Linked DNA regions of Homo sapiens: regions 1 and 2 are each linked to region 3. Evidence: promoter capture Hi-C in human tissues and cell types (Jung and others, 2019). All regions are on one chromosome and are shown on one strand. The core of a region is centred on a gene start or on the middle of the fragment in contact, and the rest is flanking DNA. Distances in the headings are between cores, read along the strand shown.

Region 1 (3,231 bases), core at 710-3,209, 530 kb after region 3:
TCAGCTTGCAAGTGCCTGATCTCGCCTTTGAATTTAGACTTATTTTCACTCTCATACTCCACTGCCTCCCTAAGAATGGCCACTCTCACCTCTTTATGAGGCATTTCGAAGCTAAATTCTGTGCTGTCAACACGTGCAAGGGAAAAATATTCAATTACAAGCATTTACACGTGTTTCTTTTCGAGACAGAGTCTCACTCTGTCACCTAGGCTAGAGTACAGTGGCACGATCTCGGCTCACTGCAACATCCGTCTCCTGGGTTCAAGTGATTCTTGTGCCTCAGCCACCCGAATAGCTGGGATTACAGGTGTGCATCACCACGCCCGATTAATTTTTGTATTTTTAGTAGAGACGGGGTTTCGCCTCTACTAAGCCTGTTGGCCAGGCTGGTCTTGAACTCCTGACCCGGTGATCCGCCCACCTTGGCCTCCCAAAGTACTGAGATTACAGGCGTGAGCCCAGTAATCTCATCATTTCAGCGCCCAGCCGATGAAAGGGGTTTTTAGGAAGGTTAGCAGCATAATCTCCTTGGTAACCCCAAGAGGCCTTCAGCAAAGCCCTATGTTAACTTTTTGAGGCTTTTTAGTGTTGGACTTGAGGTTTTTGCAATGCAATGCTTGGTTTTCTCTAGGCTGGATAGAATACTGCGATTCCCTTCCTGGCAACATATTTGTAACAGTCCTCAGTTGTTGACTTGGGTTGCATAGAGCAGCGGTTCTCAACCTTGAGCACGCTTCAGGGTCACCTGGAAGGCTTGTTAAAACACAAAAAGCGGGCCAGGCATGGTGGCTCACACCTGTAATCCCAGCACTTTGGGAGGCTGAAGTGGGAGAATTGCTTGAGGCCAGGAGTTCAAGACCAGCCTGGCAGACAAAGTGAGGCCACCCCACCCCCAATCCCGCCCTGGATCTACAAAAAATAAAACAATCTGCTGGGCATGGTGGCATGCTTCCATAGTCCCAGCTACTCAGAAGGCTGAGGTGGGAGAATCCCTTGAGTCCAGGAGTTAGAGACCAACCTGGGCAACACAGTGAGACCCCCATCTCTACAAAATAAAAAATTAGCTGGACATGGTGGCACACACCTGTTAGTCCCAGCTGCTTGGGGGGCCAAGGTAGGAGGATCTCTTGAGCCCGGGAGTGTGAGACCATCCTGGGCAACATAGGAAGATCCCTGCCTCTACGAAAATAAAATTAGCCAGGCATGGTGGTATATGTCTGTTATCCCAGGTACCCGGGAGGCTGAGGAGGGAGGATCACTTGAGCTTGGGAGGTCGAGGCTGCGATGAGCTATGATAATGCCACTGCACTCCAGACTGGGCAACAGAGCGAGACCCTGTCTCAAAAACAGAAAGAACAAACAAACAAACAAAACAATCCCCCCGCCCCCTCCCCCCCGCTCCCAAACTCATCATACACAAAAAGCTAAGCCCTTTCCCTGAAATGTCTGGTGTAAGAACCAGCACTTCTAGATAGTTTCCAGAGGATGCTGGTGCTTCTAGCCCAGGGACCACACTTGGGGAGCTGCTGCATTGGAGAAACTTGTTTCTCAAGACCTCTCCTATCTGTGCAGGTGTCCTGCAGCTGCAGACCCTCAGTGCTTTTCCTCCACATATCCTGCCACAGAGGGTCTGCCGTCTGCGTGCTTTGTCCACTCAGAGAGTCTAGACTTGGTCTCAGTCTCTTCTCTCTCTCTCGGCCTCTAGGAAGGAGACAGATTCCTCTCCCACAACCCTCCACCCCCACCCTCAGCTCAATCCTTTCCCCATCCCTCACCTGCTCACCAGGATGGCATCACCAAGGGGAGGGTCCCGGGAAGCCTCCTTCTCCACCAACTGCTAGAGGATCCCGAGGTCAGCACTAAACCCCTAGGAAGGGCATGGGGGCTACTCACCTGTGATCGCTGGGGTTAGCCTGATGTCTATGGGAAGGATTCATATGTGTACCCCCCCGCCCCCAGACTCTGCAGGTGAGTGGGGGAGCCAGGGGAACATCAGGGTATTTATAGTCTGGGGACTCTAGGAGACTTCGTCCCCATAGCTCCTTGTTAAGGAAGCGGATGCTAATTATTTTGTTTCTCCTCTGCCACATGTGACCTGTTCTTTTGGAGATGGGTGTGCTTTGGGATCATCGAGTGGGTAAGAAGAGGAAACAGTGACTAGGGATTCACTCTCACTAGGACATCTCCCTACGGTCTCCTTCCAGCTCAGGCTGAGCTTCATGGAAGCTCCCAGGCAGAGAGGTCTGGGGGGTCCCAGACTCCAGTCGGGCACTCAGATGCCTGAATCTGAGAGGTCCTTTCATTCATTGCATTATGGAAGAAACTGGCTCATTAAGGAAAGCTCCGAAGAGTATCAATCAATCAATAAATCGGTATTAAATAAATAAATTTATCAAACACTTTTTTTTGAGATGGAGTGTCACTCTTTCACCCAGCCTGGAGCACAGTGGAGCAATCTCGGCTCACTGCAACCTCCACCTCCTGGGTTCTAGCAATTCTCCCTCCTCAGCCTCTTGAGTAGCTGGAATTACTGGTGCCCACCACCATGCCCAGCTAGTCTTTGTATTTTTAGTAGAGACAGGGTTTCACCATGTTGGAAAGACTGATCTCAAACCTCAAGTGATCTGCTCTCCTCGGTCTCCCAAAGTGCTGGGATTACAGGCCTGAGCCACTGTACCCGGCCTATCAAACACTTCTTGATCACCTGCTTGGCACTGGAGTTGGACACGGTGGCTCATGCCTATAATCCTAGCTACTTGGGAGGCCAAGGTTGGAGAATCCCTTGAGCCTAGAAGTTTGAGACCAGCTTGGGCAAAACAGCAAGACCTTATATCTACAAAAAATTTAAAAAAATTAGCCAGGATTGGTGGCACATGCCCGTGGTCTCAGTTACCCAGGAGGCTGAGGTGGGAGGATCACTTGAGCCCTGGAGGTTGAGGCTGCAGTGAGCTGTGATCGCACCACTGCATTCCAACCTGGACAACGGAGTGAGACCCTGTCTCTTAAAAAAAAAATCCTTCCTATCAGCCACACAGAACGTGTGTAGGATACTTGTTGAAATTCTCCTAGGGGCTTTAGTAAATATTAGAATTACTTTCCCTAATAATATTGGCTGTTGGACTGTTGGCTCTTGGATCGTAACTCTGTGGGGAGGTCAGCTTCAAAGCAAGAACAAGGTAGACCAACTTCGCGTTGGACATATGGGGATATGAGTAGGTGCCAATCCCACTG
Region 2 (3,463 bases), core at 884-3,383, 560 kb after region 3:
GCTGCACAGACAGACTTTTGTCATACTCTTGGCATTTCCCCATCTCTTTGCCTTTTCCTACACTTTCTCCTCAGTAGGGAATGCTTTTTGCTTTTTTTTTTTTTTTTTTTGAGACAGAATCTCACTCTGTCACCCAGGCTGTCTGGGGTGCAGTGGCATGATCTCGGCTCACTGCAACCTCTGCCTCCTGGGTTCAAGTGATGATCCTGCCTCAGCCTCCCGAGTAGCTGGGACTACAGGTATGCGCCACCATGCCTGGCTAATTTTATTGTATTTTTAGTAGAGACGGGATTTCACTGTGTTAGCCAGGATGGTCTTGATCTCCTGACCTCATGATCTGCCCACCTCAGCCTCCCAAAGTGCTGGGATTATAGATGTGAGCCACTGCACCCCACCGGGAATGCTTTTTTTTTTTCTATCTAGATCCTTCTCTGACAATTTTGGTGGCATAATATCTGCTATGCCTTCCCCCATCAACCATCCATTCATCTATGTTTTTATCCATCTATCTATCCAGTCACCCATCAATTCATTCATCTATCCATCTACCATCTATCCATTAATTCATCATCTATCCATCCATTCACCCACTCACCCTTCCATCTATTCATCTGTCCATCTACTTATCTATTAATCAGTCATCCCATCCACCCATCCTTCCACCCGCACATCTATCTAGTCATCCATCAATCCAATTTAACATCCATCCTTTTATTCATCAACCCATCCACCAATTTATCTTTCCACTTACCTATCTATCCACTCATCCATCCATCCATCCACCCACTCACACATCTATTCATCCGTCTGTCTACCCATCTATTAATCAGTCATCCCATATACCCATTCATTCTTCCATCAACCCATTTATCTACCCATCCATCTATCTATCCATCCACTTATTCATCCAACCACTCATTCATTCATCCATCCATCCATCCATTCATCCATTATCTCTCTCTGTCTTCCATCCCTCCATCTATTCTATCTTCCAACTATCCCTCCATCTAGCCCTCCTTCTATCCATTCCTTCATCCATCATCTCTATCTTCCATCTATCCATCCACCTATTTACTTATCCATCTACCCACCCACCCATCCATCCATCCATCCATCAATCCATCCACCCACCCACCCACCTACCCAGCAAATATTTTCTGGGTATCTATTATGTGTTATGCACTTAGAATCCATTAAGTAAGACAGACATGCTCCCTGACTTTCTGTCCTTCTGTAGCTCTAGTCTGTGACAGAAATGAATATTAAATCTCTCTCTCTCTCTCTCTCTCTCACACACACACACTCACACACACACACAGCAAGTGCTGTGACGAAAGAGGAGCCAAAGATTGTGAGGGAGGAAGTGGAAGGAGCATAGCCCTGGAGCCAGAACCGAATCCTGCCTCAGTCCCTTCCCAGCTGTGTGACCTTCGGCATCTCACTCTCCTCTCTGAGACTCGATTTTCCCATCCGCAAAGGACCTGGGGAGAGCTCTAGGTGCTTAACAGCAATGGTGACCCAGGTAGGTTTTAGGATCCCTCTTGACCTCCTGGAACTTTCCTCTTCCTTCTCTGGACTCTCACAGCTCTGCTTGCTCCTACTTGAATTACAGCAGTGTTTTTGATTCTTACTCTCATGGCTGAACTGGCAGCTCAGTTTTCAGGACTGAAAGCCTGACTTCATTATCTCTGTCTCCATCATGGCCAACAGTGTGGCAGGGAGCACAGAGGTGGTGTTGGAGAGAATTTGCTGAGTAAACAAATAAGAAAAAAATGAACAGATGAAAAGAAAGAGGGGATGGATGGAAATTTCTTCCATTCTGCCAAAACTGGCCAGAGCATTAATTCATGAAGGGAGAGGGAGCGTATGTGTGTATGTGCGTGTGTGTGTGTGTGTGTGTGTGTGTGTGTGTGTGAGAGAGAGAGAGAGAGAGAGAGAGAGAGGCTAATATCCACCAAATCACTTACCAACTCTAGAGGCAGCTGTTCCTCAAGGCCAAGTTCAATCTCACTACTCTCCTAGTTGCCAATACTGAGCTGGGCACCGAGGAGGAGTCAGGCCCACGTACTGATCTTGGAGAAGGGGCTGACAGTGTGGAATCTCCCGGGGTTTCTCCTGAGAAGCCTGGTCTATGAATCGGGTGGCACAATCACCTGGCCCTTTATTGTCGGTGAGTTTTCTGTCACTCAAGAAACCTCATGACACACCCTTGGCACACAGCTGTGGTGTGGAAATGGAGCCAACGCCAATGGGATGAGTGATCGCAAGGCTGAGGGGACTCCCTCTGGCAAAGGTGGCCTAGGCAGAGAGTCTAAATGAGTCAGATGTCTGTGCCAGCCCAGCCACAACCTCTCCCAACCCCCATCCCATAGCCAGCCCATCTGGTTATTACCATCATCATTATGCCTAGTTTATTCATCTCACCTTCCACTGTGTAGATAACACCGACTTCACTTAGTTATTATCTCATCGAGTCTTCAAGAGTCTAGACAGATCAGTATTTTTGCTCCCATTTTGCAGATGGAGAAACTGAGGCTCATAGAGGTGAAATGACTGCCCAAGGTCAGCAATTGGCACAGTTGGCATTCAACCCTATAAGGGGTGAGGTGTGGTGGGTCACGTCTGTAGTCCCAGCGCTTTGGGAGGCCAAGGCAGGAGGATCGCTTGAGGTGAGGAGTTTGAGACCAGCCGGGGCATAGTGAGACCCTGTCACTAAAATAATAATAATAATAAAAATGATGGCATATACCTATAGTCCTAGCTACTCAGGAGGCTGAGGTAGGAGGCTGGCTTGAGCCTAGGAGTTTGAGGCTGCAGCGAGCTAAGATTGTGCCTCTGCACTCCAGCCTGGGTGACAGAGCAAGACTCTGTCTTAAATATAAAAACAAACAAACAACCCCTAAAATGTTCCAGCCCAGTTGCCTTAACTGATGCATCATGATGATTCCTCTCTTCCTCCTCCTCTTATTATTTTTCAGCCATTTTGTTTCATTTTATTTCTTATGTTAATAGTGAAACCAAAGGCGAACCTGATTAAGCCCTCCAGACTTAATCTGCCTTGCGTTTAATTGCTTACTTACTTTTAATTGCTTACTTATAGTTGATCTTAAAAGCGCCACTAGCAAGTCACGTAGCCAAATAATGCATAACTAAACTCCCACTGGCTTCCTTACAGATAACATTTTTGTCTGTGGGACACTATAGTAATGGGTGCTTAAAGTTGTTTTTCAGGAACTAGGTAGGAGGCAGCTCTTGTTTAGTTTAAGCCAGTGGAGATCACTGACCCTTCAACTGCACCTATGTGGGTAGCTGATATCAGAGGGCCGTAAACTCCACCTTCAGATCATGCTAAATGCTATTTTTTGCACAAATGTCCTATCTAAAGCCATGTAGCTCAACCATGCTTGCTCAGAAATTCTGATTACCTCACCTTCCCTACCTGCCAGTCACCTTTCTCCGTACT
Region 3 (3,272 bases), core at 554-3,053:
GTCCCCTAGTGAGTATTGGAGGGAGGGGAGTCACTCATGGGAAAACAGAAGCTGGTGCTTCTCTGCAGGGGCCCTTCCACCCCTACCCAGAGTGGGGCAGTGGGAAAGTGCACCAGACCACAGAGTGACCAGCCTCAGTCACCACCCATCAATTCCTAAGCCTAAGTCTTCACATCTGACAAATGTGTCTCCTAAAGCATCACAAAGCATTGCCAGCATTCTATCAGACACAGGGAGAGAGAGCAGAGAATAAGTTCCAAATTAAAGATGTGAGTAATGGTCCCATCAATATAAAAAACGTACGAGTGTATGTGTATGTGTCTGTATGTACACATGTGTATGCACACTGAAAAAAATCCAGAAGAATGCACATACCACGATGGAATTGGAGAAATTACAATTGGAGTAGAAACCTTTTAACTTTCTACACGTCTCTGTTGCTTCGTTTTTCAAGCTGGGATGCTATAAATGTAATAATTAAAACAATTTTTTTTTTCCTCTGAAGTCCTTGTCCTTTATTGGGCAAGGGGTGAGGGAAGCAGACAGACCGGTTGGACACAGTAGATGGGTGTGTGAGGACAAAATGCTACCAGAAAGCCAGCCAATCCACACTCCCCTGAAATGGATGCTAACGCCCTTCAAACCCTGGGCATTGGTTTCATACACAGCCTCTTCCAGGGATAAAAGGGGTTCTTGTACAGCTTCTTGTTACCCTCAACCATGGAGGCAAGTTCTGAGTTCTGGTTTTCCTAGGACACTAACTCTAGTCACAAAGATCTCTGGAGTGATCACACATGGTGGAGTGGCAGGGTGAATATTTCAAAAGGATAAGTAGAACAGGAGTCTTGCCCAAGCCCTGTCATGTCAGTGTCTGTGTGTGGCCTCCCAGCCCAACCAGAAATTGACAGAGAGGCATGTATATGGTGAAAAGATATATATATATATATTCAGAATTAGGCAGCTGCACTCAGTTTAGATAATCCCAATTTTGTTGGCAACATCCAAAGCATCGTAATCAGGAGTCAGTCGAACATATACCTTCTTCTCTCCATCAGGCCGAATCAGGGTGTTGACCTTGGCCACATCAATGTCATAGAGCTTCTTCACAGCCTGTTTGATCTGGTGCTTGTTGGCTTTAACATCCACAATGAACACAAGTGTGTTGTTGTCTTCTATCTTCTTCATGGCAGACTCAGTGGTCAGCGGAAACTTGATGATAGCATAGTGGTCAAGCTTGTTTCTCCTGGGAGCGCTCTTCCGAGGATATTTGGGCTGTCTCCGGAGTCGCAGTGTCTTCGGCCGCCGGAAGGTGGGTGACGTGTGGATCTTCTTTTTGTGGCTGTGGACACCTTTCAACACTGCCTTCTTGGCCTTTAAAGCCTTCGCTTTGGCTTCGGCTTTAGGAGGGGCAGGAGCTTCCTTCTTCACTTTCGGCACCATCTTGTGAAAAGGGTCCAAAACAAATTTTTTTAAATAAATAAGGATTTGGTACAGTGGGGACACAGTTGATCCACAACATAGGTGAGTAGTTCTGTTTCGTTTTGTTTTGTTTTGCTTTGCTTTGTTTTTTGAGACAGAGTCTCACTTTGTCACCCAGGCTGGAGGGCAATGGTGCCAATCTCGGCTCACTGAAACCTCCGCCCCACCAGGTTCAAGCGATTATCCTACCTCAGCCTCCCGAGCAGCTGAGATTACAGGCATGAGCCACCACACCCAGCTAATTTTTGTATTTTTAGTAGAGACAGGGTTTCACCATATTGGCCAGGCTGGTCTCCAACTCCTGACCTCAAGTGATCCAACCACCTCGGCCTCCCAAAGTGCTGGGATTACAGGCGTGAGCCACTGCGCCCAGCCAATAGGTGAGTTGTTCTTACTGTGTCACCATGAAGACCCAGCTCCCAGGAATCGGCCTGCAGTCTCCCTAGAACAAGCACACGGGCTGCCCACTAGCTGGAGTTTCACCTTCCCTGTCCTTGAATGCTCAGGAAGGAACACATTCTGGCTTCAGCACAACTGAGTTCAAGTCCAGGCTCTGCCACTCACTAGCTGTGTAACCCTCTGAGTCTCATAGCCTCCTCGATAAAATGCAAAGGTCAAGTTCTAACTTTTAGGTAATTAGTTTCTCAACAACAAACTTCACATGAACACTTAAATGGTAGCAGGCATGGTGCTAGGACCTGGGACACAGGTTGAACAAGACAGACGTGGTCTCTGCTGATAACCTACCAGTCACATTAGTCCCAATTAGCCCCCGGAAAAGATCTCTTGATGCATGGGTTACATCCTGTTCCTGAGTAAAGAATCTTGTGAGTTCCTCAAATCTTATCTTTAATTACTCAGATCTTATGAGTTCTTCCAACTGTTGATGTTCTGATTTTCCACTGATATGGAAAAGCACAATCCTTTGTTTCTAAACCATGAAGTTTTGCTTTATATTTATAAATCATAAAGTTTTTCTTTTCTTTTCTTTTTTTTTTTGAGACAGGGTCTTTGTCACCCAGGCTGGAGTGCAGTGGCGCAGTCTCATCTTACTGCAACCTCCATCTCCTAGGTTCAAGCAACCTTCCTGCCTCAGCCTCTCGAGTTGTTGGGATTGCAGGCATGTGCCACCATGCCCAGCTAATTTTTGTATTTTTAGTAGAGCAGAGTTTCACCATATTGGCTAGGCTGGTCTCGAACTACTGGCCTCAGGAGCGATGAGCTTCTCCTCAAGGGATCTGCCCGTCTCAACCTCCCAAAGTGCTGGGATTACAGGCATAAGCCACTGTGCCCTCTCTTATAAAGTTTCACTGATGGTTTTACATACAAAATGTTTTAGCCTGTATGTTATAACCTGTATCTAATCATTATGACCTCTGTATTATACCCTCCAATAAAAACAGACAATTCTGATATAAGAAGTTCCCTTCTCTTCTCCTAAACTTTCTTATAAAAACATTCCAAATTGTAAAAGATTCTGGCACACATCCAAATGTGTTGGTGCATCTTTCTGGGTTGATCCTCACCTTTGGCTTCAAATAAACCCTTATCAAAGTATTTCTGCCTCGGCAGCTTTAATTTCACTCCACAAAATGATGTAGTCATCAGTGTTTCAGAGTGGCCTCCCTGGTCACCCTGGACCTTCCTGAGCAGGTTTCAACCTTCATGCACGGAATCCATCGTGTTCCCCCAACTGGGATGCCCCTGCTGGATGCAACAGATAAGTTTCTCCTGAAATCAACGAACTTCCTGTTTTAGGCAAAGTTCTGCCTTATTGAAGCTGCTTTCCCCCT

What was found. Contacts are between HindIII fragments. The study calls those that stand out against the background at their distance.
Region 1: a contact is called between the fragment with the promoter of OR1I1 here and a fragment that was not itself captured in region 3, in 7 of the 25 tissues and cell types used here (aorta, dorsolateral prefrontal cortex, heart left ventricle and 4 more).
Region 2: the fragment with the promoter of CASP14 here is called in contact with a fragment that was not itself captured in region 3 in 4 of the 25 tissues and cell types used here (bladder, dorsolateral prefrontal cortex, lymphoblastoid cells and 1 more).

Annotation. Positions count from the first base shown.
Region 1 is chr19:15,080,939-15,084,169 of GRCh38, reverse strand. It overlaps OR1I1 (olfactory receptor family 1 subfamily I member 1), which reads right to left and starts at 1,959. Exons shown (of 2, transcript NM_001004713.2): 1 at 1,894-1,959. The HindIII fragment of the contact is 16,029 bases long and covers 1-3,231 here.
Region 2 is chr19:15,048,150-15,051,612 of GRCh38, reverse strand. It overlaps CASP14 (caspase 14), which reads right to left and starts at 2,133. Exons shown (of 7, transcript NM_012114.3): 1 at 1,968-2,133. The HindIII fragment of the contact is 29,360 bases long and covers 1-3,463 here.
Region 3 is chr19:15,609,824-15,613,095 of GRCh38, reverse strand. It overlaps the pseudogene RPL23AP2. Among named protein-coding and RNA genes, the nearest start is that of CYP4F8, 3.8 kb to the left of the region's middle. The HindIII fragment of the contact is 7,491 bases long and covers 1-3,272 here.